Regions from separate parts of the Homo sapiens genome. Here region 2 is linked to region 1. Evidence: promoter capture Hi-C in human tissues and cell types (Jung and others, 2019). All regions are on one chromosome and are shown on one strand. The core of a region is centred on a gene start or on the middle of the fragment in contact, and the rest is flanking DNA. Distances in the headings are between cores, read along the strand shown.

Region 1 (5,435 bases), core at 2,568-5,067:
GTTTCTTTTTAAAAATTTGTAACAGCCACCCTTTGAAAAGCACTTGCTGTATGGTAGACATTGTCAAGTGTCTTCCGAACATTATTTCAAATCACTCCTTCCACAGTATACAAGTCCATGCAATACTGGATCTGAGATGAGTGGGGAAGTCATTGGTCAATTTATACGGCATGGTTGAACAAAAATAAAACCACACTGGAATTTTCTATTGTCATCAATTCCAGAGTATTGAGAAGCATGGCAGATAGGATAGAGACAGCCTATAAGCAGGAAAAACTAGCTTAAATAAAATCATGATTCAAGTCCTATTCCTGCCTTCTGTAGCCTCCGTGACTTTGTATGTGCTATATAATCTTTTCAGCATTTTTTATATATAAATTATGACCTACCATTTATATTATTGAAGAAGTCAAAGGCTGAGATTCATCCTTGATTCTTTTTATTCACTCCCTATCAAAACCATCAACAAGTCCACCTAAGGTTGTCTTAAAGATCTATCCCATATCCGTCTGCTTACCTCCATCTCCAGTGCCATAACTCTTGTCTGAGCCACCGTCATTACTTGTTTAGTCTATTGCAGTAGCCTCCCGACTGGCATCCCCACATCCATTCTTGCCTCCTTAAAATATCTTCTCCACAGAACTGCCAGAGTGGGCTTTCTAAATGCAAATCTGACCTCTTTTTCTGAATGTTTTACTTTCCTGTATTACTTTATTTCAAAATCAAGTCACCAAGAAAATGAGTTACTTAATAGGATCATGTCTCTTTCCTCCTAAAATCTTCACGAGACTTCCATGCACCCACCCATTGCACTTAGAATAGAATCCAAACTCCTTATTATGTCCATAAAGATCCTTAATGGCATGTCTCCTGCTTGTGTCTCTGACCTCACACTTTATCATACTTCTCACTCAGTAATCTGCCATCCCAGTCCCCCACCTATGCCTTGAAAATGTCAGCCTCAGGCTTTGCACTTGCTGTGGCTTTTGCCTGGAGTTCTTTTTCCCTAGCTGGCTGCTTCTCCTCCTTCAGGTCTCAAAATGTCACCTCTTAAGGGAGAACATCCTTAGCCACCTCCCCACACTCTCTCCATCATATTGCCCTGTTCTGTTTTCTTTTTGGCAGTATCACCATTTGAAATCCTCTTGCTTATTTAATTGACTTTTTGCTTATTGGCTTTTGCCTTTCTATCATAGGCATGTAAACCTCTTGAGAGCACCAACCTTGTCTTACATGTTTAAAGCACGCCTAAATGTTCCTTAAATATCCACTGAATGAATGAATGTATCATAGGTTTTCTATAATAAGCAGACGATAGCAAGTTCAAAAAGCTGAGGTTGGTAGGATATTTAGCTACATGAAGTCACTCAGAGAACAAGGCTGATAGAGACTTTGCCATTTTACGATGTCACTATCTCCATATATGGTTTCCAGGAGCATTGAATCAGGGGAAGAGAGTACAGAAAACTCATACCTGCTCTTAAATAAATGCCCTAGGCCAGAAGTGACTTGTAACACTTCCACATGGAGTTTATTGTTCAGAACTAGAGTTTAATGGCCTCACTTTAGCTTTAAGAGAGGTTGGGAAATGAAAGAGGAGCACACATAGAATGTTTGGAGAGTTTTCCTTTGTCCGCTGTATACCTCTTGTTAAAGATGAGAAAATTGAGGAAAAGAGGGATAAGAAATCTGCTCAATGTCACAGAGCTGGTAACTGGTAAAAGCTAGACTCAAGCCCAGGCTGCCTGGTGCCAGAGCCTGTCTTCTTGTCCATGCCTTCATGTTGCAGTTCCACAGGGGAGAACTACTCAGATGCAGAGAGTGTGTCAAGGGCTTTTCCCCCGTCTCCATTCTTTTCCGAAAAGTGGCTGCTCCTTCTCTTTAGTAACAGAGGTTTTTTGGTTAGTTGTTTTGTTTGTTCGTTTCTTTGTTTTTTGGTACTTTGATGCTTTGGGTGTTTAAGGTTTAGCTTACCATGGCCAGTCAACTAGCCCTGCCTTCTCACCTCTCCAGTGACTGGCCACAGAAAGCTAAATATTAAAAACCCAAACTATCCTAGCTTGCCACACGGTCCTGTCAGGAATGTCCTGGGTGTCTCCAGAAATCTTTAGCCATGACTTTGATCAGAAATAATTTCTTCCCAGCTTCAATGAAAATACTGGAGATCCCTCATTCTCTAACAATGCCCCAAAAATGGCTCCAGTAGAAAAGTCATAGTACAAGCCGCTACCTATGACTACCTTGGTTTATCCAATGCAATATCACTATCAACCCTCCATCTAAATGCCTGGTCCAGGTGCTTTACAGGCTTGGTGTCACATAATCCTTTCAATGATCCCATGCAACAAATCTTATTAACAAATCCTGCTTCATTTTACAAATGTCAAGACCAAGCTTTGAAAGGAAAATGGTTCACCCAAGAGCTTTCTTGTGAGTGCCTGAGGTTGGACTTAATTAAGCTCAAGACTTTGGGATTCCAAAGACCCTGCATTTTACCAGGATACCAAATTGTTCCTCTGAGAATCCCAAGTGAATAAAAAGAGCCAACATCGACTATGCCCAGCACCGTGTGCTACATGCTTTTTATAAATTATTTCATCTAGTTCTAACAAACAAATGAAGAAGCAAAGAAAACACCCTGGGAGGTAGGTATTGTTGTTATCATTCCTATTTTACAAATAAGGTAGGTGTTGGGTGCTGTGGCTCATGCCTGTAATCCCAGCACTTTAGGAGGCTGAGGCGGGCAGATCACCTGAGGTCAAGAGCTCAAGACCACCCTGGCCAACATGATGAAACCCTGTCTCTATTAAAAATACAAAAATTAACTGGGTGTGGTGGCGGGCACCTATAATCCCAGCTACTTGGGAGGCTGAGGCAAGAGACTCAATTAAACCTGGGAGGCGGAGGTTGCAGTGAGCCAAGACCATGCCATTGCATTCCAGCCTGGGTGACAGCATGAGATTCTGTCTCAAAAGCAACCGAAAACCAATTAAGGGAGGTGAGGCCCAGAGCAAGAAGGTCCACAAAGATGACATGGAGGTTAAGTGGCAGACCTAAGGCTCAAACTCAGACCTTTCTGCCTCCAGACCTCCAGAGCCCAGGCTCTTATCCATTAGGCTACACTGACTCTCAGCTGTCATTTAAGGGAGACTATGGTGATGTAGGGCTGGGAAGGGGGAGCAGGTTAGCCACAGAGAACTAGTGAAAATGCACCATTGGATCTAGTTCATTCACACCCCTAGCCATGCCACCGGAATTGGAGGTGACTTCGTATACGTGGTTTGTTTTTCTTTTTTTTTTTTTTTTTGAGACAGAGTCTCTGTCTCCCAGGCTGGAGTGCAGTGGCATGATCTCGGCTCACTGCAAGCTCCGCCTCCCGTGTTCACGCCATTCTCCTGCCTCAGCCTCCCGAGTAGCTGGGACTACAGGCGCCCACCACCACACCCGGCTAATTTTTTGTATTTTTAGTAGAGACGGGGTTTCACCGTGTTAGCCAGGATGGTCTCCATCTCCTGACCTCGTGATCCGCCCGCCTCGGCCTCCCAATGTGCTGGGATTACAGGCGCGAGCCACTGCGCCCGGCCCACATGGTTTGTTTTCTAAGTGATTATCTCTCCGTGGAGGCCTGTAATTGTTTCTGTCCTATTTTACCTGAGCATCTCCTCCCCCTACTGAATTACCCAATTCCTAACAAGTTCTCTGTTCAAGGTCCCCCTTCGCTGTGGCCAGAAGCCAAGTTCTGCTGGGTGCACAATCCTGCGGATCACCTGATCAGAGAGAACTGAACCTACAAAAGAGAGCTCAACCTCCTTTTCCATACCTACCAGGGACCTAGTTCAGCTACGTCCTAAACAGTACCAGGTAAGACAGAGGTGAAGGTCAGCTTCTATCTGTGTGTGTGTGTGTGTGTGTGTGTGTGTGTGTGTGTGTGTGTGTGTGTAATCCAATTTTAAGTTCTGGCAATGCTACTTTTAAGTTGAGTGACCTTGGGCAAGTCACTTAACTTCTTGGCACTTCATTTTAGAGGCAAAATGACAATGGTGATATTGGGTGAGAGGAATAAATAGGAACGTACATGTAATATGTTTAGCACAGTGGCTGGCATGTAAATGGGGACTGGTTTAGTGTCAGGCAGCTCTGAATGTGGTGAGCCGTGGGAGACAGGCACAAAGTCAGAGATGAATGTTTGAAGGAAATCTTTTCTATCTATGCAGAAGTTGGCTCACTTTCTATAAAGTGAATGCCTTCTAAAAAAAATTATCCAAGCATAGTAATACATGCCTGTGGTCCCAGGTACTTGAAAGGCTGAGGCAGGAGGATGACTGTAGCCCAGGAGATTGAGGCTGCAGTGAGCTATGATCACACCACTGCACTCCAGTCCAGGTGACAGTTTCAAAAAAAATGGTTAACATCTAATGGGGAGGGGGTTGGCTTCAGAATTTGCTGGGAGTTAAAAGGTACCTCAACATTTATTGAGTCCTTACCGTGCACTTCATTCAGTGCCAGCAAGTAAATTATCACACTAATCCTTATGGGGAGCTGGGAAGAAGGTATTACTACTGTGCGCTTAAGTTCAGAGACATGAACAGCACCAAAGACCCAGCTGCTAGACAACAGAGACAAACATCTAGCCCTGGCTCTGTAACTCTGGGATACCCTATAACACAGTAAGTATGTTGCTTCATTAAATAGCTTTATCAGTCCCAAGTCCTGTGAAGTCAAAGCTTAGTTGCAGGAGCTGTTCAAGGCACTATGTATCTGGGAATACAGTGGGGAGCCCAGCTGCCTCTCAAAGCTACCATGTCAAATTGCTTTCAGAATGCACTTTAAGCAGTTCAGAAAATTGTTCTTTAAAATGATTTCATAGGATGTGCTTTAATGATATGCTCTAACAGGGTAGGAACTCTTTCAGTTTAATTAATCTCCAATAGTATCTAAAACTGTACATGGTACATCTATAGTAAATACTTGAGAAAGAAAAAATACATTTTTCTATAACTCAGATAATTTGTGGGCACACTGGCTTTTCTCTTTCTGACTTTCATCACTCAGTTTTCTGAATTATGACAAAGAAGGGAAGAATCTAACTTTTTGTTGAGCACTTACTATGTCCAGCACGGTGAGAAATAGACAAACTAAGCTTTGTGAAGTCAAATCTGAAGACAGATGTGGATGGAAATAGATATCGAAACAGAGACAGAGACGGAGATAGAGATAGAGACAGAGATAGTGATAGAGATAGAGACATGCATCACTTAACAACCAAGATACGTCTGAGAAATGCATTGTTAGGTGATTTTGTTATTATGGGAACTCATAGAGTGTACTTACACAAACCCACAAAGCATAGTCTTCTACACATATAGGCGATATGCTATAGCCCATTGCTTCTAGGCTACAAACCTATGTAGCTTGTTGCTGTATTAAATACTGTA
Region 2 (5,377 bases), core at 2,122-4,621, 57 kb before region 1:
CCAAAAAGAATCCAGGACCAGATGGATTCACAGCCGAATTCTACCAGAGGTACAAGGAGGAACTGGTACCATTCCTTCTGAAACTATTCCAACAATAGAAAAAGAGGGAATCCTCCCTAACTCATTTTATGAGGCCAACATCATCCTGATACCAAAGCCGGGCAGAGACACAACCAAAAAAGAGAATTTTAGACCAATATCCTTGATGAACATTGATGCAAAAATCCTCAATAAAATACTGGCAAACCGAATCCAGCAGCACATCAAAAAGCTTATCCACCATGATCAAGTGGGCTTCATCCCTGGGATGCAAGGATGGTTCAGTATATGCAAATCAATAAATATAATCCAGCATATAAACAGAACCAAAGACAAAAACCACATGATTATCTCAATAGATGCAGAAAAGGCCTTTGACAAAATTCAACAACCTTCATGCTAAAAACTCTCAATAAATTAGGTATTGATGGGACGTATCTCAAAATAATAAGAGCTATCTATGACAAACCCACAGCCAGTATCATACTGAATGGGCAAAAACTGGAAGCATTCCCTTTGAAAACTGGCACAAGACAGGGATGCCCTCTCTCACCACTCCTATTCAACATAGTGTTGGAAGTTCTGGCCAGGGCAATTAGGCAGGAGAAGGAAATAAAGGGTATTCAATTAGGAAAAGAGGAAGTCAAATTGTCCCTGTTTGCAGACGACATGATTGTATATCTAGAAAACCCCACTGTCTCAGCCCAAAATCTCCTTAAGCTGATAAGCAACTTCAGCAAAGTCTCAGGATACAAAATCAATGTGCAAAAATCACAAGCATTCTTATACACCAATAATAGACAAACAGAGAGCCAAATCATGAGTGAACTCCCATTCACAATTGCTTCAAAGAGAATAAAATACTTAGGAATCCAACTTACAAGGGACGTGAAGGACCTCTTCAAGGAGAACTACAAACCACTGCTCAAGGAAATAAAAGAGGATACAAACAAATGGAAGAACATTCCATGCTCATGGGTAGGAAGAATCAATATTGTGAAAATGGCCATACTGCCCAAGGTAATGTATAGATTCAATGCCATCCCCATCAAGCTACCAGTGACTTTCTGCACAGAATTGGAAAAAACTACTTTAAAGTTCATATGGAACCAAAAAAGAGCCCGCATCACCAAGTCAATCCTAAGCCAAAAGAACAAAGCTGGAGGCATCACGCTACCTGACTTCAAACTATACTACAAGGCTACAGTAACCAAAACAGCATGGTACTGGTACCAAAACAGAGATATAGATCAATGGAACAGAACAGAGCCCTCAGAAATAACGCCGCATATGTACAACTATCTGATCTTTGACAAACCTGAGAAAAACAAGCAATGGGGAAAGGATTCCCTATTTAATAAATGGTGCTGGGAAAACTGGCTAGCCATATGTAGAAAGCTGAAACTGGATCCCTTCCTTACACATTATACAAAAATTAATTCAAGTTGGATTAAAGACTTAAACGTTAGACCTAAACCCATAAAAACCCTAGAAGAAAACCTAGGCATTACCATTCAGGACATAGGCATGGGCAAGGATTTCATGTCTAAAACACCAAAAGCAATGGCAACAAAAGCCAACATTGACAAATGGGATCTAATTAAACTAAAGAGCTTCTGCACAGCAAAAGAAACTACCATCAGAGTGAAAAGGCAACTTACAAAATGGGAGAAAATTTTCGCAACCTACTCATCTGACAAAGGGCTAATATCCAGAATCTACAATGAACTCAAACAGATTTACAAGAAAAAAACAAACAACCCCATCAAAAAGTGGGCAAAGGATATGAACAGACACTTCTCAAAAGAAGACATTTATGCAGCCAAAAGACACATGAAAAAATGCTCATCATCACTGGCCATCAGAGAAATGCAAATCAAAACCACAATGAGATACCATCTCACACCAGTTAGAATGGCAATCATTAAAAAGTCAGGAAATAACAGGTGCTGGAGAGGATGTGGAGAAATAGGAACACTTTTACACTGTTGGTGGGACTGTAAACTAGTTCAACCATTGTGGAAGTCAGTGTGGCGATTCCTCAGGGATCTAGAACTAGAAATACCATTTGACCCAGCCATCCCATTACTGGGTATATACCCAAAGGACCATAAATCATGCTGCTATAAAGACACATGCACACGTATGTTTACTGCGGCACTATTCACAATAGCAAAGACTTGGAACCAATCCAAATGTCCAACAATGACAGACTGGATTAAGAAAATGTGGTACATATATACCATGGAATACTATGCAGCCATAAAAAATGATGAGTTCATGTCCTTTGTAGGGACACGGATGAAATTGGAAGTCATCATTCTCAGTAAACTATCGCAAGGACAAAAAACCAAACACCGCATGTTCTCACTCATAGGTGGGAATTGAACAATGAGAACACATGGACACAGGAAGGGGAACATCACACTCTGGGGACTGCTGTGGGGTGGGGGGGGGGGAGGGATAGCATTAGGAGATATACCTAATGCTAAATGATGAGTTAATGGGTGCAACACACCAGCATGGCACATGTATACATATGTAACTAACCTGCACATTGTGCACATGTACCCTAAAACTTAAAGTATAATAATAATAATAATAATAATAAAAAGCACTTACCACTTCAGAAATTCCAGGGGTTTTAGCGGCTATGTACCAGGAAACTGGAATGAAGATGAAATATATATTTTATAGTATCATACCATCCACCAAGCTTTTGATTTCTCATTGAATTTTTTAGTTCTAATATTTATTTTCATTTAGTTGTTCTTGATATCTTCTATTTTTTGCTGATATATATTTTTTTCATTTATTTCAAGCATACCTAATTGTTCACTGAAGCATTTTTATCAAGGCTACTTTAAAATCTTTGTCAGATGATTCTAACATTTCTGTCATCTCAGTGTTAGCATCTATCCATCATCTTTCTTCATTCATTTGAACTCTTCCTGGTTTTGGTATGAGGAGTGATTTTCAATTCAAACACAGACATTCTTGTAATAAGACTCTGCACCTTATTTAAACTTTATATTTTAGCTGGCTTTGACACTGCCCAGGTAGGGGACAGGGAAGGGGCACCACCTCATTATTGCCAGGTGAATATAGACATCTAGGTTCTTTACCCAGCTTTGGATGACACCTGAGTTGCAAGGAGCTTCTTCTTATTGTTGGGTGGGGACTAGAGTTCCAGCTCCCGACATGGTCTCTATGGACACTGGCCTGTTCCCTGCTTGGCCTTCTCTCACACCATCCCCAGCCTTCGTCACAATAATTCCTCTGCCCCTCTAAAATCTTAAGTCCATTGACTTAAGCACACCTCCTTCATGCCTTCACTTATCTTCTGCCCAGCTTGGATTCTCTGTGCCATTCAGATTCTTTGTACTGCTCTCCCTCCACCATACTCATGTGGGAAAACCCAGCTCTATGCAAAACTCCAGATAATTCTACTTATTTGTGACACTTGAGAAGCTTAATATGGCTCTGGAGAATTGCACATGGTATTTGTTGGTGGTCCTAAACTCAATGGTTACACTTGTTACAAGATAGACTAAGGCACATTAAAATTTTAAAGCATACATGTGAGCAAACTGATCCATGAATCAGGCAGCTCCAAATGGGAAGTAATTCAGGGCTCTATTGCAGGGCACAAAGGGAGGGTGTTTATAGGGTGAATGTGGAAGCTGAGCAAAGAAATTACTTGATTGGTAAAGGTTTGAACAATTGCCTTATTTGCACTGTTCTGGTGGGAAGTTCAAGACAATATACTAAAGCCCAGTTGGCTGCCTGTGACTGGCTGAGCTTATATTTCATTTTATTTTAAATTCTGAGTTAGGCTTCAGTTTGCTTATGTGGGAACCCTGAGTGTTAGAGCCACCTCAGTCTAATGGCCTCCTATTTAATTATGTTAGCACACTTTAACTTCCTGACTGCAAAATATTCATGTGGGCCGTTCTCACTCTCTGACAACCCCACTACATTTCTACACTTGGAGATAACTGTTTCACTCCTTCCCCTGTTTCTCTAAACTAGTACCTCTCCTTCTCCCCTCTTATTTCACTGAGATTTATAAGTGAGAAAAGCCAGAAGAGAATGTCCTTATTCCCCCTAACCAGTTAACCAACCAGTACTCTTACAACTCTGCCCATACTTTCTGCATTCCTTCCAATGACCATGGAAAAATTGTCCAAGGTCCTAGCGTGGGTCACCTTTTCCACTGTGGACTTGACACCATTCCCTCTCCCTTACTCCAGGATATTACTCCCTCAGTTATTCTTCCTCTCTCTTGCATCATCAATTTCTTTCTTTCTCTGTCTTTTTTTTCTTTCTTTCATTCTTTTCTTTCTTTCTTTCTCTCTCTCTCTTTTCTTTCTCTTTCTTCTTTTCATTTCTTTCTTAAGAGTTGTAATAGGGAAACAAAGTCAGGCACAAATACATGGTAATATTTCCCATGTGAAAATAAAATTTCTTGGGCCATTTGTCTCCCTCCACCTCTTCATTACTTGTCTCCTTTTTACAGCAAAATTTCTCAAAAATAGTTGTCTGTATCTGCAGCTTTTACTTCTTTATTCTCTGTCTGTATATCTGTACCTCTTCTCTTGGTCTCTCTTTTTCTTCCTTATTGTGGAAAATCCTTATGTATCTCTAAAAGATAAGGACTCTTTTAAAACCTAATCACAATACCATTTAATACCTGAAAAAGCCATAATAATCCTCTATTAATATAATTTTTCAAATTTCATGTTTCCAGATTCACTCTTTTTTTTTTTTTTTTTTGGAGACAGTCTCGTTCTGTCACCCAGGCTGGAGTGCAGTGGTGCAATCTCAGCTCATTGCAACCTCTGCCTCCCAGGTTCAAGCAATTTCTGTGCCTTAGCCTCCCAAGTAGCTGGGATTACAGGCATGTGCCACCATGCCTGGCTAATTTTTGTATTTTTAGTAGAGACGGGGTTTCACCATGTTGGCCGGGCTGGTCTCAAACTCCTGATCTCAGGTGATCTGCCCACCTCGGCTCCCAAAGTGCTGGGATTACAGGTATGAGCCACCCCACCCAGCCAGCCTTTTCCAGATTCAATTTTGTTTTACATTTGTTTTTTTTTTTCAACTCAGTGTCCAAACAAGGGCAACACATTGCATTTTATTGATATATATCTTAAGTTTTTAATCTATAAATTCCATCTCTCTCTTCTTTTTCTTTGTAATTCATTGTAGAACATACGGCATTGTCCTCTAAAGTTTCCCAAATTCAGTGTTGATTTTGCTAATTCAATGTGGTTGAGTTTAACATATTTTTCTGTCCCGTGTAGTTTCTATAAACTAATAGTTAAATCTAGAGGAT

What was found. Contacts are between HindIII fragments. The study calls those that stand out against the background at their distance.
Region 2: a contact is called between a fragment that was not itself captured here and the fragment with the promoter of ACSM1 in region 1, in 1 of the 25 tissues and cell types used here (stomach).

The regions. Positions count from the first base shown.
Region 1 is chr16:20,696,062-20,701,496 of GRCh38, reverse strand. ACSM1 (acyl-CoA synthetase medium chain family member 1) reads left to right here and starts at 3,817. Exons shown (of 14, transcript NM_001318890.3): 1 at 3,817-3,861. It also overlaps a transcript of ACSM3 not described here and the pseudogene LOC124903661. The HindIII fragment of the contact is 5,047 bases long and covers 1-4,932 here.
Region 2 is chr16:20,752,901-20,758,277 of GRCh38, reverse strand. It overlaps a transcript of ACSM3 not described here. Among named protein-coding and RNA genes, the nearest start is that of ACSM3, 8.4 kb to the left of the region's middle. The HindIII fragment of the contact is 3,716 bases long and covers 1,514-5,229 here.